5 separate regions of the Homo sapiens genome follow, and all the other regions are linked to region 1. The links are contacts of gene promoters, found by promoter capture Hi-C in human tissues and cell types (Jung and others, 2019). All regions are on one chromosome and are shown on one strand. Each heading gives the region's core, a stretch centred on a gene start or on the middle of the fragment in contact. The rest is flanking DNA. Distances are from core to core; before and after follow the strand shown.

Region 1 (4,461 bases), core at 691-3,190:
GTAGTATATAAGCACAAATGTAAACAATGCCACATGTAAGAGCCAGTGATTTCCACATGTACAAGTGCTCCCATTTTAAAGAATGAAAACAAAAAAAATTCTTGATTATGATGCTCCCCCTTCCCCCCAGATGACCACACCCCAAACACTTCCCTGTCCCCTTTCTCCTCCTCTGCAATGAATGAAAGAGAAAGGATGGGAGGTTGAGGAGTAGAAGGCTACGGGCTGGGCTACAAGGGAAGTGTCTCCCCTGAAGGCAGGAAGTTTTGCGTGTTAGGCACTAACACACAGATACGTACACACTTCAGGATGTAGCTTAACAGGTGTCAGGAAACAAAGCAAGTTACTCCATGGCCACTCCAAGCCGCCAGCTAGCTGGAGAGGCTGAAAGAGATGGGTACTGCAGCACATGTATGCCCGACAAAATATCAATTGCACCACATCCCCCCTCAAACACACACTCACAAAAGAGCACAAACTCCCAGCAATGCGAACTTTCCCTAGTGGAGCTATCTCCCTACCAGGGGAGAGAGACTAGAAACCAAACCAACGAAGATGCTTCCAAACACAGCAGCTTGCTTCATTCCGGGACACAAACGACACTGACATGCTGGTCACACGGAAGCCCCAAGCCCTTGTGGACATGCTTTGTGATTGGTGTTATTGCTTCTGTTTGTTTTGCTTTCCCTCATGATTATCAGGAGTAGCAATATCTGTCAGTCCCCTCAGAAATACAGGGAGGGTGGCGGGGCCTTTGAGAAGTGTAACAACTAAGAAGGGGAAATGGGGAACAAAAAAAGCATGCAGCATGTTGAAACCTGCCTCCAAGTTGAGAGGATGGAGCCCAGTAACAAGGATAATGGAGAGCCAACAGGAGGAGAAAGGAGCATGTGTACGTGTGTGTGTTTGTGTGTGTAAAAGGTAGACCTCTGTGGATAGGAAATCTAAGAGGAGGGGGCAAGGAAGGAACGGAGAAAAGGCAGGCGAGGAAGTTCCAGGATCGGGGGAGTGGAGACCACCAGCGCAGCATGGCAGACAGCAAAGAGAAGGCAGCTGGAGGAGTCCAGAACAGGAGAGGGAGCCTACCCGCCTTGGAGTGGGGGCCTTCTGGCATTATTTCAGTGGCTGCAATATACCCAGCACCCCTCACTCCTTCTTCTCGAGGGTCTCTTTTCTGTCCCCCAGCAGAGAAAGCACTGCCTCCTTCAATTACATATATATGTGCATATGTAATATATAATCACACACGTGAAAACACACACACCATACATACTTACATTAAAAATGGAATCAAGCACCATCTACCAAGCAATAGAGTTAACTCCTTAAACACCCACCACCCTTTCCAGCCTGATTTTTTTTTTCCTCCAAAGCGATGGTTCCTCCATTTCACATGCTCTTGCCTGGAGTGCGAGTAGGGTATGTGTGCGTGTGTGAACACTTCCCCTCTGCCCCTCATCCGATCAGGAGAAGCCCCCTCCTCTGGCTGTAAGCCCAAGTCTCCCTTCTGTTACCGCAGCACAGCTTTAGGGAGCCAAGCAAAACAGTCAGTACCGGGGAGGGGGTACACAACCCCTATCCCCAAAAAAATCCCTGGCCAGACCCAGAAAGTCCCTCCCCAGGCTGCCCCCTCACTCACCGATCTGGATATTGTTGGGGAAATTGGCACCTACTACCGCGCCTAGGAAACCGGTGCAGAAGAAGGCAAAAATGTGCTGCATATTCCTTTTTGCATTGGCGAAAAAGAAGCCCAGGTCCAATCATAGATTTGGTGTTTCCCCCCCTTTCCCTTTATTCTTCTCGCTGTTCTGCCTGTTCTTTTCCTCCTGCAGTTCCTTCCTTGCTTGCTTGCTTCCTTCCTTTCGTGAGGTTTGTCTGTTTCCCTTGGAATCCGAACACTTAAACTGCAGCGTTAACACCAACTGACAGCCAGATTAACTGAGCACGGGAAAAGAAGCCCGTCCTCATGCTAGCTGGAGCGCTGGCTCCCCCACTCCCTCTCCTCTCCCCTCGCAGCCTGCCTCTCTCTCCCTCCCTTGCTCTCTCTCGCTCTCCCCCTCACACTCACACAGGCAGCAAGCTCTATGCTAATACCCACCGAGCTAGCTTGGAGTTCCACAGCCGACCTCCCTACCTGTTCCCCCTTCCTCCCATCCTCACCTTATCCTCCTTTCTGTGTGTGCAGAAAGGTGGAGGTGGGGGTGTGTGACACGTGGCACTTGGTCCTGAAAGGGGCAACCCCACAGTCCTCTTTACCCTCCCCTGCCTTTCTGAGCTCGGTCTGCCCGCTCCCCCAGCCCCCAGGCTGAAGCTGCTGGGAATGTGGGTTCAGCTGTAAGTCAGTAGGTGGCAGGGGGTCCCCACAATAGTCCTCAATCCACCAGCTGCTTGATCTAGGTCACTTTTTCTAGGAGTGCATGGGCTGCGCTGGATATATCTCCTGCACTCCACTGGCCCAATTATTCCTACAACTAATTCCTGAGGGAAAGACCCTAGAAATCCCTCCTAGGAAATTTAAAGGAAAAAAAAAAAAAAGCTTTCTCTCTCCTAATGGAAGGAATGACAGATAGACAAACAAGGGAGGATCTGGAGTGACTGGCAGGTATTTTGACCAGGTATTTGACAGTCCCTGTCTACCTTTACAAGTGAAACGGTGGTCTCTTTTCAATCCTAGGCATTTAAAATGGGCCCCCTTCTCTCTTTCCCTGCATTCCACAGGAGTCTATAGCATCAGAATCGTGTGGGTGTACAATAAAGACTAAGGATACTTACACAGAGCAATTACATGAGTCATTTTGCAGGGATTCTAGTGAGAGGATTCAAGCTTCTTTCAGGTCTTTCTGGATGCTGGTCATGTCTGGTGTAAGCTGGAACTTCATAGACTCTCCTAGACCAGGGCTTCTGCTGAAATAACCTGTAGAGAGATCAGCTGTGTTCAGGATAGTAGTGTTAAATGCAAAGCAGCAGCCACTAGCCGCCACAGAATACAGTTTTTGAAGGAACTTTACAGATTTTTATCCATCTATCTTCACTCCAAACCTGTAAAGTGGCCATGAGCCCTGTTTTACAGATGAAAAAGATAAGACTTCTGGGATTAAGTCATAAAGACACAGACCTACTAAGATGTACAGTACAACCTACAAACTTGAGTGCTTTGGCCGTTACCAGTTGACTTACTGCCCTGGCCAGGACTCCTGTCCAACAGGAGATGATCCAGGAAAAGGAAAGTCAACTTTGTCTTTAGTAAGAAAGAAATAATAGACTTTGGACTCCATTTTGCTTTGCCATATGAATAGGCCATTTTATCCACAGACTCTTCACTTCCCTCACCAGGACTGTATATCATGTGGACTTGAGTGACAGCTACAAGGACTGGGATTTGTAAAAAATATCTGACCATGTACAATGAAGCCCCAAAATAGGAACAACTTGGAGGTCAAATGCTTTGTGATTTCCTATGCACTTTCACATATATTAATTAATTAGCTAAAATAATTTTTAAGGCTAATGTTTATTCACTATTTTGAATGTGCCAGGTACCATGCTAAGAAATGCACCTGCATCATTTATTTGTACAATACCTGTGTAGGTAGCCTCATGCCCATTTTATAGATGAAGAAACAGAGGTCTAAAAACTCACCCCAAGTTTTCACTGCTAATGAAAGAGATTGGGCATTTAAACACAGTAAATGCCACCATCAGGCCCCAGCTCTTAACTCTTAGGCTCTAATAACAGCAAGCACTGGGTAGGAACCTTCTAAAGGAAGAATAAGCATCAGCATAGGAAGATGAGAGAACAGAATCAGGAAAGATCACTTCTAAGGTCTCTGCCAACATTAAGAGTCTCTGATTTAATGATTCCATCTTTTAATTTCTCCATTTTCAGTTTTTGTATCTTACTACTTTGAATAGTACCTGGGGATCTTTTAGGTTCCCTAAGCTTTGTGCCTGGTAATAATAATAATTAGGCTGTCATTAAAGGCTTCACACCTTGCAATCACCTTTTAGAGGAAGCTCTTTAGACCCTTTACAAGCAAAACCTCAATGTCCCCCTGCATTAGGTAAGATTTGTTTTGCATACTTTGTAGGGAGGGGACTTTTAAGGGAGTCAAAAAGATGAATTTTCCATGGTCATTATAAATCATATAGTCAAGCAGATCTTCCTAAAACAGAGGTCTACGTCATTGCCCTGCTCAAGTATGGTCAATAGCTCCCCTTGGTCTATTAAATACATAGTTGTTCACTGATTAAATATAGAACTTACATATTTCAAGTGTAGGCATCTAGGTCAAACTACATTAGGTTCAATGTTTATTCCATGTTTCTTTATAATTCTCTTCATTTCAAATGTTGGTGGGGAACCTATTCTGTATCTCACAGGGTGCCAGGTGCTGGGCAATATGAAGAGGAATCAGACACAGTCTCTGCCTCAAGGCAGGTGAATGTGGCAGAAGAAGAAGA
Region 2 (4,461 bases), core at 1,359-3,858, 250 kb before region 1:
TCCAAGTGCCACCTCCTCCAAGAAGCCTGCCTGACTGCTGCTTCCTACGCTCACCTCTCATTTCTCTGAACTCCTCTACTTTTCCTGTTGGTAGCACTCCTTGCTTTCCTCCTATTCATTGTTAGCACTACACTAAATTATTAAATCATTAAAGGATTTTATATTTCTTCATAATTCTCTAGAACCTAATAACTGTACAGTCTCAATATTTGTTGAGTGAATGTGAAACTCTCACTCTACTTTTCCTGTTGGTAGCTCTCCTTGCTTTCCTCCTATTCATTGTTAGCACTGCACTAAATTATTAAATCATTAAAGGATTTTATATTTCTTCATAATTCTCTAGAACCTAATAACTGTACAGTCTCAATATTTGTTGAGTGAATGTGAAACTCCATAAGTAGGAAATTTGTAACGCTTTCCTCTGTAGGGAAAATACTTCTTAAGCTAATAAATAGCAAAAACATGATTGCACAAGGGATCATTTATTCTGAGTGAATAAACTGATTTCAAACACTTGAGGAGCACCCATTTTTGGGAAAGTGGAATCGAAATACATCCATAATTCTTACAGGGTCATTAAATCATGTTTCCTCAGAATCTTTACTCAGGAAAGCATTTGTTATAGAGCAAATTATTGCACAAAGTTAAAATAACAAACTTTTTTCTTTAAAGTATTATAAAAGACTAATGTTCTCACAGATCTAGACAGGTTTCCACTCTTGGTGAACTGTTGCCATAAATTTGCCTGAATTATTATCGATAAGAAATGCCAACTTTGTATCTCTCCCCCTTTTTCTCAGGGGTCCTCACTCAGAATGCCCTCCCTCTAACAAGGAGATAATTGGAGACACAGCCGGCTCTGGGCCTGCTCTGAGTTGAAAGAGGCACCAAGGAACCTTCAACTTCATCCTCACCCTCAGGAAATGGGAATTGTTCTTCCCCAGTTCTCAAAGAGGAGAAGCAGCCCTTCCTAGCTGGGACATGATATTATGTTCATCACTAGGACCTGGGCCCTGTGTCCAGCTCTGCCATTGGACCTTAACCTCTGTGCTCCACATATGTCCAATGAGCATGAGATTATCCACCCCGTTATGCATAGGATGTGCAGTAGGCAGAATTCTAAGATCGCCCCATGACCTCTGCCCCCTGGTGTTACTGCTATGATTATGTTATGTTCAATTGCAAAAGGGATTTTGCTTTTGCCCATGTAATTACGTTTATTAATCAGTTGAACTTAAGACAGGAACATTATCTGGGCGTACCTAATCTATGACATGAGTCTTTTAAAAGAAGAATTTTCTCCATCTGGAGGAAGAAGAGGAAGACAGAGAGATTTGAAGTGGGAGGGATTTAATTTGAGGGAGGGTCCTATCACTGAGTTGGAGGGGCCATGGGCAAGTATCTGAGATGGCCTCAAGAAACTGAGAGTGGTCCCCAGTGGCAGCCAGCAAGAAAATGGGGATTTCAGTCTTATATCTACAAGAAACTGAATTTTGCTAATAAAAGAAAGGAGTTTGGAAGAGAACCCCCAAGCTCCAGAGGAGAGCTCAGCAGGCTGACATCTTGATTCCAGTCTTATGAGAACCTGAGCAGAGAATCAAGTCACAGCCTACTGGACTTCTGACCTATAGAACCATGAGGTAATATATGGGTGTTGTCGAAGCTACTAAGTTTGTGGTTATTCATTACACAGCAATGGAAAACTAATGTATGGTGACTGACAATCATTATACAATACTCCCTTAAGCCATTTTTTTGTGTCTGCCATTTGACGATGTCTGCAATAAATTCCTAATCTATCATTTTAGCCTCGGTCTCCACTTTTCTCCTCTCTATTTTCTGGGTGAAGAGGCAGTTAAGAATAAAGGCTCACTTTCAGGCTGCTTGGGATCAAAAGCCATTCTGCCAAGAACTGGGTGGTGTCCTTGGACAAGTTACCTAAGCACACTAAGCTTCAATTTCCTCACCCACAAAGTAAGGTGTGATAGGCAGAAAATTTGCCCCCCAAAAACATCTATGCTCTAATCCCTAGAACTTGAGAATATGTGACATTACAAGGCAAAGAGACCATTCAGACAGAATTAAGGTTAGGGATCTTAAAATAGGAAGATTTTCCAGGTGGACTCAATGCAATCATGTTGGACCTTAAGATTGAAAGAGGAAGGCAGAAGAGTTGCTCAAGGAGTAAGACAGAAGAAGACATAGGAAAGATATAAAGCATGAGAGAAGGTTGATCTTCCATTGCTGGCTTGGAGAAGAGCAAAAGGGGGCCACAAGTCGAAGACTAAGGGTATCCTCTAGGAGCAGGAAAGAGCCCTTAGCTGAGAACCATGAAAGAAACCAAGATCTTAGTCTCACAAACACAGGAAGTGGATTTTGCCAACAACCTGAATGAGCAAAACACCATATTCTCCCCAGAGGTCCCAGAAACAAATATCACCCTGCTCACACCTTTATTTTAGCCCTGCAAAGCCCATACTGGACTTTTGAGCTACAGAACTGTAAGATAATATATTTGTTTTGTTTTAAGCCGCTGTAAGATTTAAGTTCTGTTATGGCAGTGATGGAAAATGAATAAGAATAAGTACAGGTAAGTCACACAGGACAGCGACTGACAGAGTGAGTGGTAACCTATGCTACTTCTCGTGACTATTGTTAGTCATCCACCGCCCTGTCCATTCTGAGTACTTTCCTTCCTGCACACTCCTACCTTCTTCTTATCTTGCTTCCCCATATGTGCCTTTAGACATTCTTCCTCACTTCAAAATCCATCTCCAATGACAACTTCTTCAAGAAGTTTTTCTGGACCCCCTCAGCCAGGTGCAATCTCTTCTAAAGCAACATATTTTTTTTCGTATCTTTCCTAGCTATTATATTTACTTAAACTTTAGGTTGTATAAAGGGGTTTCTCTGTTAAATTCTGTATGCTGTGATATGCTATGCAGTGATAACAAACAGCCTGCAAATCCCCAGATCTTGGCTTAACACACTAGGCATATTTCCTCTTTTTCTTTTTTTTTTTTTTTTAAAAAAAGCTTTAGTTTTATACGTTAAGAATGCTTAACATGAGATTTATCCTCTTACAAAATGTTTTCAGTGCACAGTATTGTTGACTATAGGTACAATGCTATGCATCAGCTCTCTAGAGCTTACTCATCTTGCTTAACTGAAATTTTATGCCTGCTGATTAGTAACTCCTCATTTCCCCCTGCCTCAGTCCCTGGCAACCACCATTCCACTCTTTAATTCTATGCATTTGACTATTGTAGATATCTCATATAAGTGGAACCATGCGGTATTTGTCCTTCTGTGACTGGCTTATTTCACTTAGCATAATGTCCTCAAGGTTCATCCATGTTGTTGTATATTAGAGAATTTCCTTTTTTAAGCCTGAAAAATATTCCACTGTATGTGTACACCACATTTTCTTTATCTATTCATCTGTCAATGTACATTTAGGTTATTTCCATATTTTGGCAACTGTGAATAGGGCTGTAATAAATATGAGAGTGCTAATATATATTCAAAATGCTGATTTCAATTATATTGTATAAGTACCCCTAGAAGTGGGATTGCTGGATAATATGGTAGTTTTATTTTTAATTTTCTAAGGAACCTCCATATTGTTTTCCATAGTGGCTGAACCATTTTTCATTCTCACTCACAGTGTATAAGAATTCTAATTTCTGGCCGGGAGCGGTGGCTCACGCCTGTAATCCCAGCACTTTGGGAGGCCGAGGTGGGCGGATCACTAGGTCAGGAGATCGAGTCCATCCTGGCTAACACGGTGAAACCATCTCTACTAAAAATACAAAAAATTAGCCAGGAGTGGTGGCAGGTGCCTGTAGTCCCAGCTACTCGGGAGGCTGAGGCAGGAGAATGGCGTGAACCTAGGAGGCAGAGCTTGCAGTGAGAAGAGATTGTGCCACTGCACTCCAGCCTGGGCGACAGAGTGAGACTCCATCATCTCAAAAAAAAAAAAAAAAAAAAAAAAAGCCAATTTCTTCACATCCCTGCCAAGACTTGTTGTCTTTTCAGATGTATTTCTTGCTCAGGTTACGTATCTATGGCAGGCTGGTTGGAGGTTCTTGTCCTACCACACTTTCCTGGGGCTAAGAATGACAGAGAAACTGCCATCTGGAACATCCCCAGTGACATACATACTGGCTCTTAAAGCTTCTTCTCAGTAGTGACACACATCACTTCTGTTCATAGTTCACTGGCCAGATGAAATACAATGTCTGCAACTAGCATCAGTATGGAAATGGACCAGCAATTTTGCCTTGTGCATAAAAGGAAGAGAGCTGGATATATCTGGTGGACAACTTTCATGACAACCACAAGTTCCTCTCCCACAGCAACTCCCTAGGAAGAAGTATTTTCCCCCAGTTGCCATTTTACAGATGAAGAGCTTGAGTCAGAAAAGATAGTGGTTGGCCACATTCCTCTAAGTGACAGGAT
Region 3 (4,461 bases), core at 1,326-3,825, 210 kb before region 1:
AGCTTGATGGGAGTTCCCATGGAAACCAGCCTCCAGCTGCAGCATGTACTATCCAGGTCTCTACCTTTTGTCCATGGAGCTTCCCAAAGTGAGAGGTGGTAAAGGGAATAAGAAAGGAGAGAAGCACATCCCATTCCCCAACTCAATAACCACCTTCACATGTCATCTCAAAAGCTACCTCCCTGAGGAAGATTTCCTTTATTCCATCTTTTTCTTCTTTGAATTCCCTTTGTATGTCTCTCAGGGCCATCATGGCTCCTCTTGCCCTGATATGAAACAAGATTTATCATCTTCCTCAGTGGCTGCTTGTCCTTATGAGCACTTAACATTGACCTGGGGCTTGGCATGTGTTTTAGTTTCTATGAGTGAAGCCGTGGTGGTCCCTTCCCTGCACAAGGCAGCTGGAGGCTTCTTCCATTGCCTTTTGTTGTCTTTCTACTCAAATACCTTCGTGATCTCCCAATGCCCACTGAATCATCCACACTCTTCCTCTTGCTATTTTTTACTCATATGTATCCCTGACTACTCTTCAACCCAAGTCCTCAACAAAAACCATGCGTTTTCTCATTCTCCTCTCACACCTTACTTATTTCCACCACCATCCTATTGTTTATACTTTAAAAATTCCTGGGCTGCTTTTCTCTCATATGTTTTTTATTATCATTTTTGAGACAGAGTTTCGCTCTTGTCTCCCAGGCTGGAGTGCGATGGCATGGTCTTGGCTCACTGCAACCTCTATCTCCTTGGTTCAAGTGATTCTCCTGCCTCAGCCTCCCAAGGAGCTGGGATTACAGGTGCCCGCCACCATGTGCAGCTAATTTTTGTATTTTTGGTAGAGATGGGGTTTCACCATGTTGGCCAGGCTAGTCTCAAATTCCTGACCTCAGGTGATCCACCTGCCTCGGCCTCCCAAGGTGCTGGGATTATAGGCGTGAGCCACTGTGCCCGGCCTCTCGGTCTGTTTAAATATGGTCATTTTTCAAGTTTCACATCCCCACTGAGGGCTAGACAAACTCTAGTTAGCCCTTAGCTGAGCCATACAATATAGACTCCTTATTCTATACTACCTTTTACTATTTTCTCACATTGTCTTTTCTACCCCATAAAATGTTAAAAGATGGGGTCTTTTCTACCTCATAAAGTATTAAGCAAAAGATCAAATCTTTTGCTTCTCAATAATTCCCCAAATGCTTAAAACAATGTGGGACATTCAGCAGCTTTTCAAAACTGCTGTAATTTATTGAAGATTTTATAGCAATTGTGCATGGAGTTATTTCAAGTGTGGTGAGCACTATAAAGATAGAATAGTCCTACCCCTGTTACACAGGTAACCGTTATATAAGGCAGGGTAAACCATTAAAAAAAACCAGCAACTAAATTCTATAGGGGAAGGCGAGAACAATTAAAAGGCACATTCATACCTATTATGAGAAGAAAGAAAGAAACACACCCTGAAAAAAGTATTATTTGATATAGGTTTTGAAGGAGTAGTATCTTAGGGGTGGAGAGTGGAAGGGAGCACTCTAGGGAACAGAGTAATTAAGGGGCATTTGACTGAATTGGAAATTTCATGAGAGAGCATGAAACTAGAGAGGCAAGTAACTAGAAAGTTAGGTTGGCTCCAGATGCATTTAATATCAGAGAAGAAACTGATACTGAGAGAGCCACAAGTGACTTTGTATAGACAACTCAGCAGTCTGCCTCAAGAAAATTGATCTTGGAGCTATGCTGTCACCTGTGTTGGACGACAATCAACTGACGTCACAAGACTCTGAGTGGGATTGAGGGACCTGGGACCAGTAACCTGAACAAAGAGTGTCTGAAGAAATTGGATTTTGGATGACTCATCTGTTCAGCAGCAACAACACTCAATTACAGGGTTTCATAGACATCTGTGGGCAGGGCCACCCAACCACCAAATGATTTCCTGTCAAACCCTCTGCCTCCGCCCTCTAATTTCCCACCCTGCAGTGAACTTACTCCATAGACCAGCTCTCCCACCATGCCATTCCAGGCCTTCGTGTCAGGGTCTCGGGCTCCGTATTTTCCATCACTGACAATCTCCAGACGGTAGGAGTAGCCCACGTGCTTGGCAATCTCTGCCGCCAGCTCTACACAGTAGCCCTCGTAACGGTCATTGCCCTCAAACTGATTGGCGTTCTTCTTGAGCATCACATAAGGATCTTCCTGGAAGAGAAATGGGGAGATAGCAGAATGTGGGTTATGGGTTCACCCATGGGTAGGGAGGACTTTGGCATAGCATAATATCATGTTTGGTTAACACTGGGGAAGGCTCTCTAGCCCCTCAATTCACTTCCTAAATGTCTTCACTCCCTACCCCATTACAAGCTTCTTGTGTTAAGGAAGCAAACTTTGTTAAAATAAGAATGTTTTATCACTGAGATATGGCATACAGCTTTTCAAATTATGTTCCAGGATATTTTGTATTTTTTTTGGAAATACCTCTGGGGTCATCTTGAAGGAGAAATAGACCCTAAACAGGCTCCAGGTTTCTCATGATCAGTCACTGAAAATTACAGCATCTTCACTTACAGCTACTTTATGTATTGGACTTTCTTTGAAAATAGCTTCTACTGAGGGAGGACAGATGAAAACCAGCACAATTTAGTGTCATTCTTATGTTTTAAATATGGGAAAGCTGGCTCAAGAGAAAGTAAGTAAGTTACCCAAGGGTACAAAGGATGAGACAGTGAAACTAAGAGATACAGAGTGAAAACTCAGAGCCTCTCATTTTCAGGGCATTCCCTTTTCGACTTGCTGCTTTTATCTATTACACAGTTTTGGCAAGAAGAAAGGCCAGCTTTCAGTCCTGGTGGAAAACCCTTGTGCTGGCCTAGCTTGAATCCCAAGTAACCTTGATGAAGGACTGAGTACTCACTAGGATTGTTGTGACGATGTATGTTCTGTTCTGAACACTTGAATTATCGCCCCCAGCTTGGGCATCGGTGGCTGCAGGGACAAACTTATCATCTTCATTCCAGTAACCAATCTGTTAATGAGAAGAGAGTGGAGGTGTCAGGTGGGCCAGCCTCCTCTGAACTGGCCTGCTCTGGGTCACCCAGTCAATACCAGAGACAGGCAAGTAAGGAGCTCATGAAGAATTGGACACACCGAGCTCTAAAATATTGGTAAACAGAAATAATAAGAAGCACAGTGCTTTTCAGGTGCCCCCAATTTTGCTCCCAGGGAAAATCCCCACAATAATTGGTTCAGTTTGGAAATTGCCACCTCTGAGGGATAAGGGCTTAACTGTTTACACAGCCAGTCTGTTTTGTACAATGCAAGCCAGGACCATGGGATTTAATTCCCTGCAGTTGTTCACAGGGTCAAACCCCTCTTTCCCCCATGTCTACTAACCCTGCACTTCAGTGAACTCATTCTGAACTATAGTTGGAATCATATGATTTAAACATTACATTCTTTTACTTTATTTTTAGGTTAACTGTATTTTTCCATCTAGATTTAACTTCCTATGATGGTTGTTTATCCTTTATTTTTAAAAATTTCTTCTGTCTCCAAGTATAAACTATTACAATATTGAATATATAGGAGTGTCTAAAAATTATGGTTGACAATATTAATTTTTCAAATTTGAGTAGGTTATTTATACTAATTCATTTTCCAAGGTCTTTCAAGAAATATTAATTGAACTGCTATTGTGCACAAGGCTCTGAGCTAAAACATTAGTGTTGCTTGTTGTCAGGCAGGGTTGACGAGATGCAAAGAAGTCTGAGAGATAGGGCTTGCTCTGAGAACGCCTCTGGTCTACCATGGGAAGACATGACATGGCCGCAGAAGTGACAAGTGAGTGGGCCTAAGGAGTTCAGAGAAGCAAAAGCCAAGTGTGGGATCTTACACAGGGAAAAATGCAACAGGAGGAATCAGGGCTTATGATCATGAGAGATGAATGGTCTGGACCAAAACCTTTCAGGTTAGGGAGAATATGAGCCAAGATATGAAGACAGGAATCTGCCCAGATGTTTAAGTTCTGTGGGTCCTGGGTGGAAGATAGAGTTAGCCCAAAAGGGCAGTAGGTATCTGGGTATAGGTAGCAGATGGCTTTGAAGGCCAGGCTAAGCAGTGTAGACTACACCTCAAGGCAACAGGGGATCATTGAAAGTTTGGAAACAGTAGAATGACTTGACTAATACACACACACACACACACACATACACACCCTAAAGCTATACCTCCTATACTTATCTCTCTTTATCTCTGTCTCTAATCTCTATTTGCTTTAGACAATTGTGTTTTGTTTTGTGATCATTCTGCTGGCTCTAGATACAAAGGAAAAAGGAAAGAGAACTAGAAGTGCATATGCATTGGGATGAACAGGTCTATCAACAGCCAGAACTCAGCATAGGCTCACAAAAACTGAGGCATTTGCCAAATGGTCAGCTGAAATGTCACCTTCACCTTCATGTCTTTCCCAGTTCCTTC
Region 4 (4,461 bases), core at 869-3,368, 140 kb after region 1:
CGAGAACAGAAAATTGCCTGAATAACCCATTTAGACATGATCCTGAGCAAAGGGTGAAATAAACAAAGAATGGAATCAATGTCATTTATTCCACAAACATTTACTGAGTGCTTATCATATGCCAGGTCTTGTATAGAAAGTGTTATTGTCATTTTCAGGAATAAGAAAAACGAGGCCCAGAGAAACATAATAACTTGCCCAAGGAAAATCAACCGGTCAGTGGCTGCTCCTCACACATTCAAGCTCATTCTCCCTTCAGGACCTTTACATGTGCTGTGCCCTCTGCTTGATTCCTTCCTCTTCAGGTATGTGATTGGCTGCATCTTTCTGTCAGGATTAAGCACAGCTGTCACCCCCTCCCAGAGGCCCTCCTTGATCATGCTTTTTCAAAGTTGCCTCACCCTTCACTCTGTCGTATGACTTTGCTTTATTTATTTATTTATTTTTTTTTACCATTTCTATGACTACTTGAAATTATATACTTTAATGTCTCTCTCTATCTCTCATTCATTCTCCCCAAATAGAATGTCACCTCCATTGAAGCCGGGTCTTTACAGTTTTGTTCAGTTTCCAGCACCCACACTAGGACCAGCACGTAGGAATCGCTCAATAAATATTCCTTAATAAATAAATTGGCAGAGACAGACCTTAAACCAGATATATCTGAAACCGAATTTCCTATTCCTCAGTGCCAAGGGTCCTGCCTCTTGGAGAGTTTTGTTAATACCCTGATCCGACATTTAAGAGCTATAGAAACTTGTATGAGTCACTTTCTCTCTCTGGGCCTCAGTTTTCTCATCTGTGGAATGGGATGGGATCCAGAGTTCTCACTCTTCCCAACTCTAAGGGTTTCTCCAAGATACCTACAAATTAATGCTTCTGGTCATTTTTATTTTTAAATTTAATGTTATCTACTGTAAGGTATTAAAACATTACCTGATAAAGAATGTGTGTGGGCTTAGGTAGTTCTGAGGTCACATGTTGACTTTCCTACTTATCTATGTGATATTTGGAAAGTTTCTAAACTGCTTTGACATTAGCTTTCTCATCCACAAGATAGAAATAATGACACTTTAGAAGATGGTTGTGGAAATTAGATGAAGTGCCACAGAAAAGACAGAGAAATTCCTGGCATTTCGGAGACAGTTGACAAACGTGAGTTGCTTTTCTGCTTTAATACAATCAAGCTACAAAGACATGGTCAGTGTCAGAACCCTGAGGACTCACAGACAGGTATGCAGTGCAGGAATAAATATGAGGGAAAAGATCTAGGCAGAAGAGGAGAGTTAAAAATGTATTTAATAATAGTTATTAAGCACTAATTTAGTGTCCTGTCTTATGATCAATGAGATGCAATCTATAAATCTAATGAGATCGACATGTGGACAGACAGTGTTTTTGTATTCTTTCTTTTGTGTTACTACTTTCTTTTTTTCTTTCTCTCTGTCCCTTCCTTTCTCCTTTGTTCCCTTTGCAACCTCACAAAGTTTCTGTGGGTTGGGGATTGGAAGAATCTTAGATGGGCTGTTCTGGCTTTAGATTGTTCAAGAGGCTGCAGTTGTTTCAAAGCTTGATCTGGGTAGGATCTGTTTCCAAGAAGTAGCTAACTCACATGGCAGTTGGCAGATCTCAGAAAACCCACTTCCCAACTCATTCCTGTGGACTTTCTACAAGGTTGTCTTATGGCATGTCCACTGGCTTCCCCTGGAAGTAAGTGATCCAAGAGAGAACAAGAGAATCCAAGATGGAAAACACAGTGTTTTTGTAACCTAATATCAGAAGTGACATCCTATTACTTGTGTGTTAGTCTATGGTATTCTATTAATTAGAAGGTAGATTTTAAGTTCAGCCCACATTCCAGAGCAGAAGAGTCTGTCACATCTGATTTACAATTTTATTTGATAAAAGAATGCCCTTGCTTCAAACAAACAAATAGAAAATGTTTGAGAACTACTTTCCTAGATTATGGCCATGATCATCTTAGCCTAGAATAGTGGTTTTCAATCTTGGCAACCCACTGGAATTACTTAAGCTGTTTTAAAAAAAAATACTAGTGGCTGGGTCTCAACCCCAGAAATTCTTATTGAGTTGCTCTGTGATGTAGCCTGGAAATTGGGATTTTTTTCAAAAGCTCCCCCAGTTAATTCTAACGTGTAGCTAAGGCTGAGAGTCACTGGCCTAGAATATTTTCCAGGAAGTATTTCCCATAAACCAGTATAGCAATTTAAAAATACCTCAATAGTACACTTTAATAACAACAAACTTCAAATCATGTGACACCCTGGTGAACTCCCAGAGAAAAAATTAGTTGTGAAATGTAATAAAATAATCAAATAAATTGACCTGTTGTCAGAATTGTTAGTGCTGACCTAACTTGGCATTGTAGGGTGGCAGAAGGTGTCTGTCAAAAATGATTTTGGCTTCAAAGCAGTTGTGATTCAGAGCCACTTATCTTCTACAAATATTTGATAGCAGGGCTCATGGTGTATTGAGGACACTCCTGGCTCAGGAAAATAAACCTTCATCAGGAACGTTTTAGAAGGATGCTCTTCTGTCTATTCACTGTGGTGGGAGAACCTCCACCTAGCTTATCCAGGAGAGGTGTGAAGGCAAGAAAATACTGGTTTAAAAGACTAGGTCCCTGTTTTATCCGCACTTGAATCATTAGTTGATCCAACTAGAGATTTTTTTCTCTATCTGCTCCTACCTCTCTTTGTGGGTTTAAGGTGACCATTCTATAAAAATATAACTAATGAAGTGGGAAGAGAGAGGAAATATGAGGTCAAATAACACAGCTGAGTTTTTGAGAGTTGATTGTAAATGCGTGAATAATGCTTCTTAGCCAAAGGCAGCCAGAATGATGAAGGAGAGATTAAGAACTACAAATGGTAATGACTGCAGATACCATACATTAACTACAGAGACTGGATAATTACACTCAAGGGTCAGGATAGCAAAAGTGATATACATGCCTGCTTCGTGGATGCCCATTGCTGCCAGGAAAGATGTGGAATAAATGAGCACAAGTAGAACATGAATATTTTTCACATTAGAATTGCAATTACACTGAAAATAAAAGTTTAAAAGAATTATTAATTATCAGATATAGATTATAAAATACACTATCATGTTAATTACTACTACCACCACCACTGAACTGACTAGGGAACTCATCACTGTATTATAATCTATAAGTATTATCTTATTTAATGAGTATGATAGCTCCAAACTTACATATGAATGCTTCCATGTTGCTCACGAGGAAATTGAGGCATTGAGAGTCAATAACTTGTCCAAAGTCATCTAGCTAGAATGGGGTAGAGCCAGGACTTTAACTCAGGTCTGTTGAACTCCAAACATACACCCTTTAAATTTTATAAGATGTAATGAGGGAAGTAACGTGAGCTGTACAACTTCAGGAAAAATATATTTCTGTGGGCTAGGTTTGAGATAACATTTTGCCCATCCCTGTGACTTTGAATTCTTGAGTCAGTAGGATCTCAAGATTCTGACAGCCATGTTCTTCTGATCTCATGGTATCTCATGGCCCTTTGACTCTTGTTCACTGAGTGGAAGAATGAAAGAAACCAATGCTGTGTATGTCGTGTGTTATAGATCTCTTCACAGAGTAACAAAAGCATAACCATAGTAAAGAGTAGTTCTACGTCTAAAGCAGAGTCTGTTGACCTGAGAAACCCAAAACAACATATATTACAAAGGAAATCATCATGCATTTTAGATGGGCATTATTGTTTGCTAACGTGTTGCTTAGGACTTAAGGTAGAATAAAAAATGTACTGCAAATAGGTTCAAGTCATATCCAATGAGAAGACAGAACAGGGGAGGGAGTGATTCTAAATGGTCCAGAGTCAGCATAAAAGGTAGAATCATAGGAGTCTTCTAGAAGACAGACTCACTGGATCTGACATTTGAAGGATGTGTAGAATTTCTAGAAGCAGACAACAGGCAGTGATATGGTAGAGCTGGCTCATGAGAATGGAATGTGCATGTCTCTTCCCAACTCTTTGTCCAATGACATCTAATTGGTAGTTTGAAATTGGCCATAATGAGACTATTTACATCATGGAAATGGGCAAATATTACAAATCAGTACCAGCACACCACTAAAGATAAGTTAGAAGTCCCCTGTAGTTAGAGATGCTGGTGTGAGTGTACATTAGGAGAAATCAAGTGACATAAGATATCTAGAGGAAAATCAGGTTGGATGAAGCTGGCAAGGTGGAATTGAGCCAGACTGCAGGAGTCCTTGAATGCCAAGCCAAGGAATCTTGATTTTATTTTATTGGCACTGGACCCATCCAAAAATGTTTTGATATAATCCCATTTGTATTGTGGACTCATAATTCCAGTGCCAGAACCACAATTGGATTTAAAAAGTGAGGGATTGCAAATGGGAAACCACTTAGGAGGCTATAGTAGTAAATAGCATAATAAAAAGCT
Region 5 (4,461 bases), core at 1,087-3,586, 140 kb before region 1:
GCTGTGTTTCAATAAAACTTTATTTAGAAAATCTGGCCTTGGGCTGGCTTTGGCCTGTGGGCTGTAGTTTGTAAACTCCTACCCTACACTATTCTGCTGCTAGATAGCAAGGATGAAATGCTGACAATTTGGGAGAGGTAATAATAACTTAGAGTGCATTATACAATTTTCAATCTCCTACATTCATTTTCTGTTGTGAATACTCAATAAGGTAGGCAGGGCAGGAAGGATGACCTTTAAACCCATGAACAGATGAGGAGCCAAGGGTCATGCAAGGATGGACACACGTCTGAGCCCACGTATTCCTTTTCCACTTGTGGTTCTTTCATGGTGACTCTGGGTGCTCTTAAGAAGAGTAAGGGAAAGGAACCCTGACAGGACCAAAGTCGATTGTTGAGGTCCCAGTTTGACTGAAGACCACTGCTTGCTGATTTCTGTACAAGAGTCAATGGGACTGTGAAGCTCACAGATAGACTGCAACTAACATGTTGGCACAAGGACAGAGGTTCTGAGTTCCAGGCTTCCTCTTCTTAGCACCGGCCAGCTTTGGACTAGAGGAGGCTATGACACTGCTCCATGGCTAAAAGCCACTCTGATGAGATGGCAGAGGAGACGCCAGTCTTGAGAGGGCAGGGGTCCTCAGAGGTTCATTCAAAAAGTGAATATGTACCAAGGGACTCACAACATTGTGGATGGACCCTTTGAGGCCAAGGCTCTACCACGTGTGGGGACTCAGCCAGGAATGCTGGGCCAGGGGCTCAGTCTGGAGCTGGGGTGAGGAGCTCTCTTTGAAATAAGGGATCTGAGACTTGGGGTCTGAGCCTTGGGTCAACAAGTCTCATTCTTGGGTTAGGTTCAGGGGCCACAGTAAAGGCTACAGTCCAAGGCTGGAGTGAGTGTTCACTCAGCCTCATCTGGGGCTAGGAGGTGGGATTCACTAAAGAGCCCTGGTAGGGAGTACATCTACCTAGCTCTGCCTTTGTGCAGCCTTTGGGAACTAGCACATGAACCAGCCAAAGCAGAACAAACAAAAGCAAAGCCATTAGCCAAAGAGAAGTGGGTTGTGGGAGAGATTAGCTTTACAGCTTCCCCTCCTGGCCCAGTCATCTCCGCAATCCCCATAGTCACAAAATACCTTCTGCTGGTTCACGAATGAACCACTACCGCAAGGAACACCAGGTAAATCATCCGTTAAATGAAGGCAGACTCTTCCTTTGGCTGTCTTAATTTCTGTTCCTTGGGTGAGTGGCAGAAAAAAAATCTTTTGTTTCTTATTTGCCATTCTTTTCCTATGAAAGTCATACGTGCAAATGGGTTTTCCTAGGCCAACCAGCAAACGTACACTGTAATGCATACCCATGAACTTGATCAGCATCTGTCAATCAAGACAAAGCTTTACTGAAAGCTACAGAGGACAGCCCGAGGGTGCCCTAAATCAGCAAAATTCATCTTCTAGCTAGGATTTATCCACTGAGGAAGTGAAAGGACAAAAATGAAGGATAAAATAAAGCTATGGAAGATAAGAAGTTCTGCATCTTTAAAACCAAGTGGCAACACCAGAAACTAAGTCCCACTTCATCTATATCTGAATTCACTCCTGACCCCTGCCCTCAACTGATTTCTGGAGCTGTGAGCACTAATTAAGTTGAGGGGTAGACACAGAAGAAAAGCTGAATCATTTTTATTTCTGTTTTTGTAATCTATGGTCTCAGCAAAGCATGCTGCGAAAACGACATTTGAAACAAATGCTCGGCCAATAGAGTCTTGCAATGCACGTATACTTGCCTTTCCTTTTCCGCAGGGGTGTGAGATCAATCAAGAGTCTGCCAATAAGGGCACTTTGAACTCTGAGGCTCTGAGTTCTGGCCCTGCCTATCTCTCCCACCACATCTGCTTCCAGGCCATGACACCTCTGCCTGGGCTTCATGCTGGTCTTTCTCTTACCTTTCAGGACAGTCCCGACTTTCTTGCCTTGAGGTTTTACACAAGCTGTTATCTCCTAGAAAGCTCTTCCAACCCTCTTTAAGTGGCTGACCCCTTCGCATTCTTCAGATCTCAGCTTAAAATGTTCTCTCTTCATAGAGGCCTTCTCTAAAATACTCATCCTACTCTTTTTTTTTTCTTTTTTTTTTTTGAGATGGAGTCTCACTCTGTTGCCCAGACTGGATTGCAGTGGCGCGATCTCGGCTCACTGCAAGCTCCACCTCCCGGGTTCACGCCATTCTCCTGCCTCAGCCTCCCGAGTAGCTGGGACTACAGGTGCCTGCCATCACGACTGGCTAATTTTTTTTGTATTTTTAGTAGAGATGGGGTTTCACCGTGTTAGCCAGGATGGTCTCGATGTCCTGACCTTGTGATCCACCCGCCTCGGCCTCCCAAAATGCTGGGATTACAGGAGTGAGCCACCGTGCCCGGTCCCTACTCTTTATTCTCTATTGCGGTACCTTGTTTCTTTCCATCATACCTTATCTCTATCTTTAATTATTTTGTTTAACTTTTGGTTTATTTGTTTAATTTCATCTCCCTGATTAGGGCAAGAATCATGTTTATTTACTTATCACTATTGTCCTAGCATCTACCACAGTGCCTGGCACATGGGAGGCACTGAAACATGTCTGCTGAATGGAATAAATGCATAAATGACCAAGTAAGCTGCAGGTTCTTTATATGACTAAATGACCAAGTTAGCTGCAGGTTCTTTATATGAACTTAGTCATTTCTCCTCTTTGGGAGTTATTTCCTCATAAGTAAAATAAGTGAGATTTAATTAGCTCTAACACTCTTTCACCTCTCTAACTTATACATTTTCTTCTTTACTATTTTCCAGAAGGAGGAATGGAGGCATGACAACCAAGAGCACATGCTGCCCAGCCCAGGGACCAAAACTCAGGCCTCCTGGACAATTTCAACCACTGAGACTTTAGCAAAAGCTCAGCTGCCTTCTCTGCCAAGATGCTCCTCACTACCAAGTATTTAGTTCCCTTTGCACCAACGTTTGAATCGCTTTTCAAAGTTTCTCAAAACATGGCAGGAAACAACTCCTGCTAAGTAACAGAATTCCGGAAGACATTTGGAGAAAAAAAGGCATTTCTCACTATCCTGGAGTGTTCCCTTTGTATATCCCTGCTAAAATTAAGAGTTCCAGGAAAAAGGCTGAGATTCAAATTAATTCTGGAGGAAACAGTAAGCAAGGAAGAAGGGAGTATAAGGCACAGGAACATGTATACTATGAAACTGGGGGAAGCATTTGAGGAAAGAATGAAAATGAAGCAAATGTACTAGTTTTCCTGCTTTTGCATAACTCACTCACTCACAGATCCATGAGCAGGAGCCTCCCTGCCCCTGATTCACTCTCCAGCCTCATTCCTAACAGTTTGCCAATCACCTGAGGCCCCACCCACATAGATGCATATGAACCATTTCCTTCCAGGCCTGCATACTTTTGCATATCCTTCTCAAAAATGACCCTCCATACCTGGAAAACTTCTACACATCCTTCAAGACCCCAGCCAGATGTTGACTCCAGTGGAAAGCTTTTCACTCCTTCCAGAAAAAATTCATTTCTTCCTCCTCTAAGGTTCTAATGTACTTTCTGTCTTAGCATGTATCTTGATATTCTATAATTTCACATTTTCATATCTGTCTTCTTCATCAGACTGTGAACTTCTGTAGGACAGGGCTGGGTCTAATCTATTTCAAAAGTCTCAGGGCCTGTCCCTGACCCTGACATAGTAGATGTTCAATAACGGTTTATTGAACAGGTACTGGTCTGCTCACCTGTGACGTGAGGACCATAGTATCTGCCTTATGCGCCGTGAGGATCAAGTGAAGGAATAAGCTTACCAAAGTCCTAGATACATGTAAGCCATCTATTTATTTAAACTGCATAACCCAAATATGAGGTGGGCTGCACAGGATATTATTATTGTCCTTTTCTAGATGAGCTTCCAAGAGTTAAGTTGCTTGCTCTGAGTAGCACAGCCAATAAATATCAAACTAGAAAAAGAAAACCCAGCTGCCTGACTTTTGGTAGGATTTTCTCCCCCATCAGATCACCTATGCCTTTCAAAAATTAGCTGTAAGTTTGGTCATGCAGATTGACTAAAGAAAATATGGATGCACGTCCCTCTAAAGATGTCACAAATGTATTTACAATGCCCACTTTACATCTCCATTCTCACCCTGGCCTAGGGCTCTGCCACTGCTCACCTGTCACTGTAGACTTATTGCACTTTATCACTTGCCTTTGTCACTTTAATTCATCCCTGCCTCCACCTTGCCCACTTTCCCTTTTTCCGTTCTCATCCATCCTTCATCTAGCAGCCAGGAAGCTCTTTTGAAAATGGAAATCACATCCTGTCAAACAGATCCCCTCAAGCCCCTCATGCTTTCTCATCATGCTTTGAATAAAGTCCCAACTCCTTTGCATGACCTTTGAGAATCTGCACTGTCTAAGCGCTG

Evidence for each region. The method cuts DNA at HindIII sites, captures the fragments that hold promoters and counts their contacts. A contact is called where the count stands out against the background at its distance.
Region 2: a contact is called between a fragment that was not itself captured here and the fragment with the promoter of GRIA1 in region 1, in 3 of the 25 tissues and cell types used here (aorta, hippocampus and liver).
Region 3: a contact is called between a fragment that was not itself captured here and the fragment with the promoter of GRIA1 in region 1, in 1 of the 25 tissues and cell types used here (lymphoblastoid cells).
Region 4: a fragment that was not itself captured here is called in contact with the fragment with the promoter of GRIA1 in region 1 in 1 of the 25 tissues and cell types used here (adrenal gland).
Region 5: a contact is called between a fragment that was not itself captured here and the fragment with the promoter of GRIA1 in region 1, in 1 of the 25 tissues and cell types used here (H1 embryonic stem cells).

The regions. Positions count from the first base shown.
Region 1 is chr5:153,488,149-153,492,609 of GRCh38, reverse strand. GRIA1 (glutamate ionotropic receptor AMPA type subunit 1) reads right to left here and starts at 1,940. Exons shown (of 16, transcript NM_000827.4): 1 at 1,640-1,940. The coding sequence starts at 1,721. The HindIII fragment of the contact is 6,455 bases long and covers 1-4,461 here.
Region 2 is chr5:153,740,501-153,744,961 of GRCh38, reverse strand. The region is part of intron 11 of GRIA1 (glutamate ionotropic receptor AMPA type subunit 1); the gene reads right to left. Among named protein-coding and RNA genes, the nearest start is that of LINC01861, 160 kb to the left of the region's middle. The HindIII fragment of the contact is 5,507 bases long and covers 1-4,461 here.
Region 3 is chr5:153,696,593-153,701,053 of GRCh38, reverse strand. It overlaps GRIA1 (glutamate ionotropic receptor AMPA type subunit 1), which reads right to left. Exons shown (of 16, transcript NM_000827.4): 9 at 2,900-3,010; 10 at 1,981-2,187. Among named protein-coding and RNA genes, the nearest start is that of LINC01861, 200 kb to the left of the region's middle. The HindIII fragment of the contact is 5,190 bases long and covers 1-4,461 here.
Region 4 is chr5:153,345,442-153,349,902 of GRCh38, reverse strand. No RefSeq gene overlaps it. Among named protein-coding and RNA genes, the nearest start is that of GRIA1, 140 kb to the left of the region's middle. RefSeq lists an enhancer at 1-109. The HindIII fragment of the contact is 9,148 bases long and covers 1-4,461 here.
Region 5 is chr5:153,631,991-153,636,451 of GRCh38, reverse strand. The region is part of intron 2 of GRIA1 (glutamate ionotropic receptor AMPA type subunit 1); the gene reads right to left. Among named protein-coding and RNA genes, the nearest start is that of GRIA1, 140 kb to the right of the region's middle. The HindIII fragment of the contact is 5,028 bases long and covers 1-4,461 here.